3 separate regions of the Homo sapiens genome follow, and all the other regions are linked to region 2. The links are contacts of gene promoters, found by promoter capture Hi-C in human tissues and cell types (Jung and others, 2019). All regions are on one chromosome and are shown on one strand. Each heading gives the region's core, a stretch centred on a gene start or on the middle of the fragment in contact. The rest is flanking DNA. Distances are from core to core; before and after follow the strand shown.

The links. Contacts are between HindIII fragments. The study calls those that stand out against the background at their distance.
Region 1: a contact is called between a fragment that was not itself captured here and the fragment with the promoter of ZNF90 in region 2, in 1 of the 25 tissues and cell types used here (bladder).
Region 3: a fragment that was not itself captured here is called in contact with the fragment with the promoter of ZNF90 in region 2 in 1 of the 25 tissues and cell types used here (mesenchymal stem cells).

What each region holds. Positions count from the first base shown.
Region 1 is chr19:20,264,117-20,267,964 of GRCh38, reverse strand. The region is part of intron 1 of LOC105372310 (a long non-coding RNA gene); the gene reads left to right. It also overlaps the pseudogene BNIP3P18. Among named protein-coding and RNA genes, the nearest start is that of ZNF486, 99 kb to the right of the region's middle. The HindIII fragment of the contact is 4,763 bases long and covers 7-3,848 here.
Region 2 is chr19:20,075,649-20,079,319 of GRCh38, reverse strand. ZNF90 (zinc finger protein 90) reads right to left here and starts at 1,320. Exons shown (of 4, transcript NM_007138.2): 1 at 1,185-1,320. The coding sequence starts at 1,187. RefSeq lists an enhancer at 898-1,377. The HindIII fragment of the contact is 4,387 bases long and covers 326-3,671 here.
Region 3 is chr19:20,214,772-20,218,511 of GRCh38, reverse strand. It overlaps LOC105372310 (a long non-coding RNA gene), which reads left to right. Exons shown (of 7, transcript XR_007067164.1): 5 at 1-1,372. Among named protein-coding and RNA genes, the nearest start is that of ZNF486, 49 kb to the right of the region's middle. The HindIII fragment of the contact is 5,893 bases long and covers 1-3,740 here.

The DNA of each region.
Region 1 (3,848 bases), core at 1,139-3,638, 190 kb before region 2:
TGAAAATTCAGCTTTATCTTTTCCTTGTCATCTCTATACGTAGAAATTGACGCTGAAACACTGCTCACATTCTCATGATTGTGAAGGTGTAATTCTACCCAGGAGGCCTGCAGGCTCTCCTCCTGCAGCTCAGGCCTCACTCTCTGATGTGACACTAGAGTGCTGCTGTGGCAAATAGGATTCACATAAAATGTGAGCTGTGGTTTGTGCCTCAGTGGCAGATGGTAGAGGCCAAGAGAGGACACTAGCAACCAGGAGAAAGCAAGCAGGAGTGCTGTAGCCCAGTGCCAGGGAGTACAGAGCCACTGCTCTAAAATGTAAGTAGCCAAAAAGATAGAACACTATTCAACCATTTTTGTAGCAGAGTGAAAGCCTACCTTCAGCAGGCACCTGGCTTCAAGCTGCTAAACTACATCCTATTATGAAGATGTGAAAAGTTTTTGTCATTGAATATAAGTAATTAGCATACACAGATGGCCTCTTCAGTATCCAGGTGAATTTAGGATGAACTATGTATGACATGGTGCTGGAAATTCTTCTACTTGTGGCCTAATTATAGTGACCATCTTTCCGTCTCTTAAGCAGATTGATGAAGATCCGTGTCACATTCAAGTTCAATTGTGTAATAAAACAGTTTCTTTCTATTCTATTATTGTGGAGTTTCTCTGGGGTGGAGAAAAATTTTCATTTAATTATTGTTTCCAAACACTGTCTAGAATTACCAGACATGATATAAACACATAAGGTGACATCCAGAATTTACTCTAGAGGAGACTTTCCCTCTCAGGCTTCCAGTCAGCTCAGAGTTGTGCAGCAAAGTGCATGCTGTCCCCTAAATATGCAGGCAGAATTGTGTCTCTGCCTAGTTGGCATTCATAGTCCTCTGCAGTCACTTCTAGAGAGGCTAGATCACATTTCTACAAACTTCACAGGGCAGCAATCAATCATTTTACCTCTTTCACTGACTCTTGTATCTTCAGACTGGAACTGATACAGAAACTATTTGGCCCAGAAACCCAATCAGAGTAACGTGTGTGCATTGAGTAGACATATAGACATGAGAATCTCCACTTTCCCCTTCCTCCTCTTGCCAAAGTGCTCACAAATGTACAGGTAACACCTGCTGCTACTCCAGCCATTCAGGCCCTAAATGTGCAGCTCCAAATTTTGAATTTAGATCTTGAGATTTGGGAAATAAAAAACTTTTATCTAAAAAATGCAAGTCCTTTTGGTTATCAAATTCAGAGAGATGAAAATAAAAGTGCAGTTATTTCTCCCCTCTTTGAACTATGTATTCATGTCTTGAAACTGTTCACTATTGCCACAAGTAGCTATAAATTAAACTAATAATGCCACATTGGACACTATATCCCATACCCTAAACCATAACGATATATATCTAATCAATAATCAATGCTATTTCTGTAAATAAATAAACATTTCTGACAAACAACTTTGTATTATCTTTTAATGGTAGGTTGTATTGACATTTTTGAAAAATAAAATTTTTTGACCCCTGAGCAAAAATATATTGAAGTGTTTTATATATACATATTTTTGAACTTTCCAGTTTGACTTTTGCTTTTAATTCCTAGTTTAATTCAGTTTTTGTTAGAAAATACACAGTGTATGGCCGGGCGTGGTGGCTCATGCCTGTAATCCCAGTACTTTCAGAGGCCGAGGCAGGCAGATCACCTGAGGTCAGGAGTTTGAGATCAGCCTCAACATGGAGAAACCCCATCTCTACTAAAAATACAAAATTAGCCTGGTGTGGTGGTGCATGCCTGTAATCCCAGCTACTTGGGAGGCTGAGGCAGAAGAATTGCTTGAACCTGTGAGGCCGAGGTTGCGGTGAGCCAAGATCGTGCCACTGCACTCCAGCCTGGGCAACGAGAGCGAAACTCCATCTCAAAAAAAAAAAAAAAAGGTGGCCAGGTGCGGTGGCTCCGCCTGTAATCCCAGCACTTTGGGAGGCCGAGGTGGGAGGATCATGAGGTCAGGAGATCGAGACCATCCTGGCTAACATGGTGAAACCCTGTTCTCTACTAAAAGTACAAAAAATTAGCCGGGTGAGGTGTCAGACGCCTATAGTCCCAGCTACTTGGGAGGCTGAGGCAGGAGAATGGCCTGAACCCGGGAGGTGGAGCTTGCAGTGAGCCGAGATCACAGCACTGCACTCCAGCCTGGGCAACAGAGCGAGACTCCGTCTCCAAAAAAAAAAAAAAAAAAAAAAATTTGAGAGGTGTCTTCTAACTCAACATGTCTTTTCCATCTGAAAAATATTCATAATTCCTGGTGGATCCTCTTACCTTGGTCTCCTAAAGTGTTAAGATTATAGGCAAGAGCCACTGTACCCAGTCAGTATTTTAAAATTTAATAAAACCTGCTATGTGCCCTAACAAAATACACCAGATGAAAATAAGAATATTGTGCATTATCTTGGTTTTGACTGGGGAGTTTTGTGTGTGTCTGCGAACGCTAGTTGGTCTATAATATGGTTTGGATGTCCATGTTTTCCAAACCTCATGCTGCAATATAAATCCTCAATGTTGAATGTGGGACCTGGTGGGACACATTTGGGTCATAGGGGCAAATTTTTCATGAATGGCTTGGTACATCCTCTTGGTAACCAAAAAGTTTACACTCTATTAATTCAAATGAGAGCTGGTTCATTAAAAGAACCTGGCTTCTTCACCTCACACTTGCTCTGTCTCTTACCATATAATATATCCAGTTACTCTTTACCTTCCACCATGATTTTAAGCTTCCTGAAATCCTCACCAGAAGCAGATGCTGGCACACACTTATACAGTTTGCCAAACTGTGAGCCATCTAAACCTTTTTTCTTTATAAATTATGCACTCTCAAATATTCATCTATATGCAAAATAATTAATATAGTCTATAATGGTGTCTAGGTTTTCTGTTTCTTATTTTTTATCTAAACTTTCTATTTATTATTGCAAATGGGGTTTTGATGTTTACAATTATGTTGCTATGTATGTCTTGCTTCACTTTTGTCAATAGTTGCTTTATATATTTTGGAGCCCTGATGTTATATACACATATATATATAGATAAGTAAATATTATAGTTATAGATTCCTGGTAAATCAACTCACTTTAACATAATATAACGTCAATCTTTGTCTCATGGTACTACCTGACTTAAAGCATATTATGTCTAATATAATTATGACCACTGCACTCAATCGTGGTTACTATTTTCATGGAATGTACATTTTTTTCATTCTGTTACTTTCAGCCTATTTGACTCAATGCTTAAATGAATCTCTTGTAGGCAGCATAGCGTATGCTTTTTAAAAAACCGCACAAGCATTCTATTTCCTTTTTTTTATTATTTATTTATTTTTATTTATTTTTTTATTTTTTTGAGAGATGGAGTCTTGCTCTGTTGCCCAGGCTGGTGTGCAGTGGCACAATCTTGGCTCACTGCCACCTCCATTTCCCAGGTTCAAGTGATTCTCCTGCCTCAGCCTCCTGAATATCTGGGACTACAGATGCGTGCCACCATACCCAACTATCTTTTGTATTTTTAGTAGAGATGGGGTTTCACCATATTGGCCAGGCTGGTCTTGAACTCCTGACCTCATGATCCTCCCACCTCAGCCTCCCAAAGTGCTGGGATTACAGGCGAGAGCCACTGTACCCAGCCTATATATGTATTTATTTATTTTGCGACGGAGTTTTGCTCTTGTTGCCCAGGCTGGAGTGCAATGGTGCAATCTCTGCTCACTGCAAACTCCACCTCCTGGGTTCAAGCAATTCTCCTGGCTTAGCCTCCTGAGTAGCTGGGATTACAGGTGTCTGCCACCACACCCTGCTAATT
Region 2 (3,671 bases), core at 71-2,570:
AAAAAAAAAAAAACCCTCCTTTTGCAGGCTTAATATTAGCCTTAGCTCGGAATCACTAGGTTCAAGCTTTAATTTCCATGCCAGAGTTATTCACTGGGTTTTTGAAACTAAGTGTTGGAAAATACAGTGAAGTTACTAAAACACAGTGTTTACATAAAGGATGGAAATTTTAAGATGCTTACTTTTTTTTTTTTTTTTTTTTTTGAGGACTCTCCCTCTGTCGCGCATGCTGGAGCGCGATGGAGGGATCTCAGCTCACTGCAACCTCTGCCTCCCGAGTTCAAGCAATTCTCGGGCCTCAGCCTCCCAAGTTGCTGGGATTACAGGCGCTTGGCACCACTCCAGGCTAATTTTTGTATTTTTAGTAGAGAGAGGTTTCACCACGTTGGATAGGCTGGTCTAGAAATTTGACCACGTGATCCGCCCGCCTCGGCGCCCCAAAGTGCTGAAATTACAGGCAGGAGCCACCGCGCCTGGCCGGGAAGGGGTTATTAGCCCTAATGCAGTTCTGTTTTTGTTTTCCCTCCATTGGCTGGGGTCAGACCGCACAATCTAAGCTGATCCCGGTTGGCTTACACTCAAGCTTTTTCCAAATCGGGTAATGCGCGATTTGTGAGAAAAGGAGAAGGGAGAAGAAGGGGTAGGGGTGATTTACAACTTTTCCAACTTATGACCAGGAAGTTGCGTCTTTGAAGAAGAACTACGTTGTACTAACAACCCTTTACCTCAAGTGATCCGCTCGCCTCGACCTCCCAAAATGCTGGGATTACAGGCATGAACCACAGCGACCGGCCCCATAAGTTTTTAATAGGAGAAAAGAGAAACTGTCAACCCCATGGACCAAAGCTCTTCCCATTCATGAACCTGCACCCCGAGTCAGGATTCTCCCCCGAGAACCCTCCCGTGCTCCCTGCACAATCTGGGAGAGACGCAGCGCTGTGGGTGCAGAGCTGCCCAGAGAGGGCTCCAGGCCAGGGCAGGGAAGAGACAGGACGCCGCGGGGCCCGGCTGTCGGCGCTGTTGCCATCTTATGGCTGAAGGGGACTGAGGCCGAACTGGGCAAGGAGAAGTCGGTCGCAGATTGTGGAGCTGACTGCGGGGAGGCCTAAGTCCCGCCACAGCCACTTCCCATCGGTTCCAACCAGTCCCTCCCCTCTCTCGGAATGCTGGAAAGGCACTCTCACCATTTCTAGGCTTCCGGGGGTCCCTCAGCTGTGGATCTCCCAATACCTGCAGGTCACAGGGCCACAGAGGCTGGAGAAGAAGACACGAAGCAGCTAAGACCAGATTTGGAGCACCAGCTGCAGCAAGAGACAAATGGCCGCGCCAAACCCGAAAGCCTTCCTCTTCGCTCCAGCTGCCTGCATGATTGGACGGTTTCCAACCCAGCGTCCCTGATTGGATAATGCTTAAGGCCCCGCCTCCTCAGTCCCTGAGTGACAGAAGATGTGATCACATGCTGGGCTGAGTGAAGAAAGAGTCACAGCCTCAGCTGCAGCCTTTTCAGGCCGGGCTTCCTCCTTGAGCTGAGCCAGGCCCACCGGAGAGCATGGGAAAATTCTTTTTTACTCTTTCTCTTTTTGAATGTATTCAAAAGGTGAACAGAAGTATTTGGCTGTCATATTAATAATACAAAAAATTTTTGTTCAAGAGAAAACTTTTACTTTGGTAATAGTGTATTATCAATACGAAAGCTAATTTTAATAAAACCTTGTAAGTAAATCAAATTTGTCATTTTTGACCTCTCGAGACTTACATATACATCATATATATTTTGTAATCTAATGTAATTTTTTTAACTTTTTATATTTTATTTTTATCTACATTCTTTTTATTTTTTCAATTTGAAACAACTTTTAAGTAATTTCAAACTGTTATAGGAGACAGAAAGGAAATCATTTAGGGCCAGGCGCGGTGGCTCACGCCTGTAATTCCAGCACTTTGGGAAGCCAAAGAGGGCGAATCACTTGAGGTCAGGAGTTCAAGACCACCCTGGCCAACACGGTGAAACCCCATTTCTACTAAAAATACAAAACCTTACCTGGGCGTGCTGGTGCACACCTGTAGTCCCAGCTACACCGAAGGCTGAGGCAGGAGAATCTCTTGAACCTAGGAGGTGGAGGTTGTGTAACCGCCCAAGGAGTTTACCTTGCCCTTTGCCCAGACAAAACCAATTCATCAAGACAGGGGAATTTGTGGAGGAAAAGTTAAATATTTAATTTGAACTCAATTGAACGTGGACACAAACAATGGTCACCAAGTCCTGGAAGAGGTTGTGTGAGCCCCTTGAGGCGTTCATCCAGTGCTATTTTAGAGAAATCTCTATGTCAATCTATTCAATCTATTCCTATACATTCGTTATTGAAAAACAATAGACAAGGCCGGGCGCGGTGGCTCACGCCTGTAATCTCAGCACTTTGGGAGGCTGAGGCGGGCGGGTCACGAGGTCAGGAGATCAAGACCATGCTGGCTAACACGCTGAAACCCCGTCTCTACTAGAAATACAAAAAATTAGCCAGGCCTGGTGGCAGGCGCCTGTAGTCCCAGCTAGTCGGGAAGCTGAGGCAGGAGAATGGTGTGAACCTGGGAGGCGGAACTTGGAGTGAGCCGAGATCGCGCCACTGCACTCCAGCCTGGGCGACAGAGCGAGACTCCGTCTCAAAAAAAAAAAAAAAAAAGAAAGAAAGAAAAAGAAAAACAATAGACAATCACAAAAACAAGTTGACCTTTCTGTGTTCCTTGAGACCAGTCATGAAGGGCCCTGGTGACTAGGCCTCATGCTGAACAACTCGTTACAAAAAGAGCTAGGTTCCCAGACCGCGCAGAAGCGTCATTATACCTCTCCTGGTCTGTGCACCGATGGGTGGCCAACTCTGGAGCCCATCCTGTTGCTTTCCGGTCTGGTGGTGAATCCTCCATAGTCTGGTGTGGAGTCAAAGTTAAATAATAAATTTGTGCTAATTGAACGTGGACACAAACAATGGTCACCAAGTCCGGGAACAGGTTGTGTGAGCCCCTAGAGGCGTTCATCCAGCGCTGTTTCAGAGAAATCTGTATTTCAATCTATTCCTATACATTCGTTCTTGAAAAACAACAGACAATCCCAAAAACAAGTGACCTTTTTGTGTTTCTTCAGCTCAGTCGCGAAGGGTCCTCATGACTAAGCCTCGTGCCAAACAACTCATTACAAAAGAGCTAGGGTCCCAGACTGCGCCAAAGCTTCGTGACAGCTCTCCTCACCTGTGCACAATTGTTAGCTTGCTATTGGACTTTACTGGAAACAAAACACCTCTGCTTTAACCATGATGTCTTTATGAGGCCTAAATTTCCTGTTATGATTTAGGTCACGAGTTCCCTCAAAATCCACAGGAGGCCAAGATGTGTGGATCACGAGGTCAGAAGTTTGAGACCAGGCTGGCCAACATGATGAAACCCCATCTCTACTAAAAATACAAAAACTAGCCAGGTGTGGTGGCATGCATCTATAATCCCAGCTACTCAGGGGGCTGAGGCAGGAGAATCACTGGAATCCCAGGAGGCAGAGGTTGCAATGAGCTGAGGTCTCACCACTGCACTCCAGCCTATGTGACAGACTGAGACTCCATCTCAAAAACAAACAACCGAAAAACATAACCATTTCTGATGAAGAAAGGGGTGGGAGCAGCCAGTTA
Region 3 (3,740 bases), core at 128-2,627, 140 kb before region 2:
CCACCACGCCCAGCTAATTTTTTGTATTTTTAGTAGAGATGGGGTTTCACCACGTTAGCCAGGATGGTCTCGATCTCCTGACCTCGTGATCCGCCCGCCTCTGCCTCCCAAAGTGCTGGGATTACAAGCATGAGCCACCGCACCCAGCCGTTTTTTAATTTTCTATGAAAACCATTGGATGCAGAGACATTCTATTTAGCAACTTGTTTCTTATTCCCGCAGATCCAGTAGTTGCTCCGTAAGTCAAAAAAAAGTAAATACAAACAGAATAAAATTTTCTCTAAACTAACCTCTTCCTTTTTATGTCTCATTCATCTGTCTATACTTAGCTTTTATTCTATACAATTTTTAAAAATTTTTGATGACAGAAAAACAAGAAATTAAAATGCTTGGCTCTTTTTCTAAATCCTGGTAATTACCTTCTGTTTCTTCTGTAAACTTTAAAGAGCCAGCAAAGAATATAAAACTTTAGGATGGAGATGAGTTGTCCTTATTTGTACCAGAGTTATCTGATTGTGACAACAGTGCTAAGTGTAAGGGACCCTGTGGTTTGCCTGCTTTTCTAACTAATGTTAATAATGAGCCAAGGAGGAGTAACATCAGCATTGACAGGGGACTTGTTTAAAACACTGATTCACAGACCCTTTTCAAACCTGCAGAATCACATTACTTAAAGTGTGGCCAGAATTACCAAGTGAATTATAAGCTCATTAAAGCTTGAGAGGCAATGCTTAGCTTAGTGGTTATCAGCCCAGGCTTCTCATTAGGATCACATGGCCAATATGCAGAAATCTCTTGTACCCTCACCACAGCTTCTGTTTATTATTCTGGTTGAAAACATCCATGTTGTTTTAATGAAGGGCCTCATGTGACTCTAAGGTGAGGCCAGAATCAGGTATGAGGCCTTCAAAATATATTCATGAGAATTAAGTTCCACTTTTGGACTAAAGGGTAGCCACAGGGCCTGTTCTGTTTTGGCTTGGTATGGACAGGTCAGAGTGGTGTATATTTGTATTACTGTATGAAGCAGGTACTATGTGCTCAAGATTGTGATACAGAGAACTCTGCTGGGCATAATACATTATATAATTTAATCCTCATAACACCCTGGGAGCTGGTACTAAGGATTTAATACTAATTTCCAGGATTTAGAAAAAGGGCCCAGCATTTTAATTTCTTCTCTTTTTCTCTGCAGGTTCTGTAGCAGAAATTGCTGGTGTCTGTGGCAGGGGAGGGCACCTGAGGACAGGGAAGAAGAAACATATTTTTATCTTTATGGAGCAGCACATTGTTCCCAAATACCTTCTGCTTTAAGGGACAGAAATGGATGGACTTTTTCTGTCTTTTCTGCCAGTTGATGTCATGCTTGCAGGTAAACATGTGGTACTGACACCCTTAAAGGCATATTCTCAAGAGGCAGGTAAAAAACCAATTCCAAAAAAGTATTGCAACAAAAGGAAGCACCAAATAACTATAATATCTTTATGGCTTGCAAAAATATAGGCAGAAAAGGGCTTTCTTTTCTAGGGAAGAGCAAACAAGATTAGAAAGGAGGTGGGAGAGGAACAGCAAATGGAGGGTGAAAAAGTCAGATTTTAGATCAGAGAATGGCTTACCCTGAAATCAGCATGTTCTTAGGAGGGACATAAAATGGGGTTGTATGTTGACTCAGACTGAGGGTAGCTTGAATTTCAGGAGCCTGAGAGAAGATAAACTTAAGTAAAATTTGATTAAGAAATATTTTATTTTAGGCTGGGTGTGGTGGCTCAAGTCTGCAATCCCAGCACTTTGGGAGGCTGAGGCAGGCGGATCACCAGAGGTCAGGAGTTCAAGACCAGCCTGGCCAACATGGTGAAACCCTGTCTACTAAAAATACAAAAATTAGCTGGGCGTTGTGGCAGGTGCCTGTAATCCCAGATACTTGGGAGGCTGAGGTAGGAAAATTGCTTGAGCCCTGGAGGTGAAAGCTGAAGTGAGCCGAGATGGCCCCACTACACTCCAGCCTGGGTGACAGAGTGACACTCCATCTCAAAAAAAAAAAAAATCATAATTGATTTTGACTGCTGAAGGCAAATTCAGCTGGTTTTTTGTTTTTTTTTTAATGAGAAAAAGGAGAAAATGTGCAGAGTGTATGTCTGGCTGTGTGATAGGCAAGAAAAGGGAGCATCATCTTAATCATAACGGGAAGAGTGTTTCTTTCCATAAACTGTTCCTGAAGCACACAAAGGAAGGAGAATTTTATTAATCACAAATATTTTTCATAATTATCTATGTGTTTCATCTTTCCTCATCTCTTTTCTTTGTTCTATGCATTTCTTCCACTTGGCTTTTCCTGGGCTGCATCTTATATATTAAACCAGTAAGCATAACTACAGTGTTTTGCTGAGTTCTGTGAGTAGCTCTACCAAATTACTGAGCTTCAGGGAAGTTATGGGAGTCCCCAGTTTTTAAACAGTAGCTCAGAACCATAGATGGGCCCATGGGATTTATGACTGGCATCTGCAGTGAGAACAATGTTGTGGGACCGAGCCCTGAATCAGGGTCTGTGCTGACTCTGGGTAGTGTTAGAAATCAAATGTTATACAATAAGTTGGTGTTGGAGAATTGTTTGATGTTCAGCAAATGCTACAGATTTGGTGCCAGAAAGAAGATATCATGGAGGCCTGGCCTGGAATAAAACTCTGGGTGTTTGGGAATGGGAGATTCTGCTCTCCTGTACACAGATTGTCACACTGCCCATTGTCCTGTGATTCCAGGTCTTCTCCCAGGGTGACAGAGGACTGAAAACTTACAGGAAAGGAGCTCTGATGACACATCCCCTTTTCTTGCAGCTGCCACCACAGGATTCCCACATACTCCCAAACACACACACTAGACATTGACATGTCCACACTCCTCCCAGGACTAGGCACCACCCTCAGTGACTTCACCATGACATTTTTGGTCCAAGCACTTCTAGCCAAAAAGCCAAAAGTATCTACAAGTTTCCTTGCATATTCCCATCCCCGGATATCGAATCTGCAGCAGCAACCTGTTTTCTCCACCAGCCTAGGGTTCTGGCCCTCCTTTTCATAATCTCATCTGCCTGCATGCACACAGAAATAAATCAGAGTACAGCCCCACCTGGTCAACTATCTGTAGCAAAAATCTGTCCATTCACTGACATTGCACTCTCTCTCACCTGGGGATTTTTTTTCTTTTTTTTTTTAATTTATTTTTTTTATTGATCATTCTTGGGTGTTTCTCGCAGAGGGGGATTTGGCAGGGTCATAGGACAATAGTGGAGGGAAGGTCAGCAGATAAACAAGTGAACAAAGGTCTCTGGTTTTCCTAGGCAGAGGACCCTGCGGCCTTCCGCAGTGTTTGTGTCCCTGGGTACTTGAGATTAGGGAGTGGTGATGACTCTTAACGAGCATGCTGCCTTCAAGCATCTGTTTAACAAAGCACATCTTGCACCACCCTTAATCCATTTAACCCTGAGTGGACACAGCACATGTTTCAGAGAGCACAGGGTTGGGGGTAAGGTCAAGAGATCAACAGAATCCCAAGGCAGAAGAATTTTTCTTAGTACAGATCAAAATGAAGTCTCCCATGTATACTTCTTTCTACACAGACACGGCAACCATCCGATTTCTCAATCTTTTCCTCACCTTTCCCCCCTTTCTATTCCACAAAACCGCCATTGTCATCATGGCCCGTTCTCAATGAGCTGTTGGGTACACCTCCCAGACGGGGTGGTG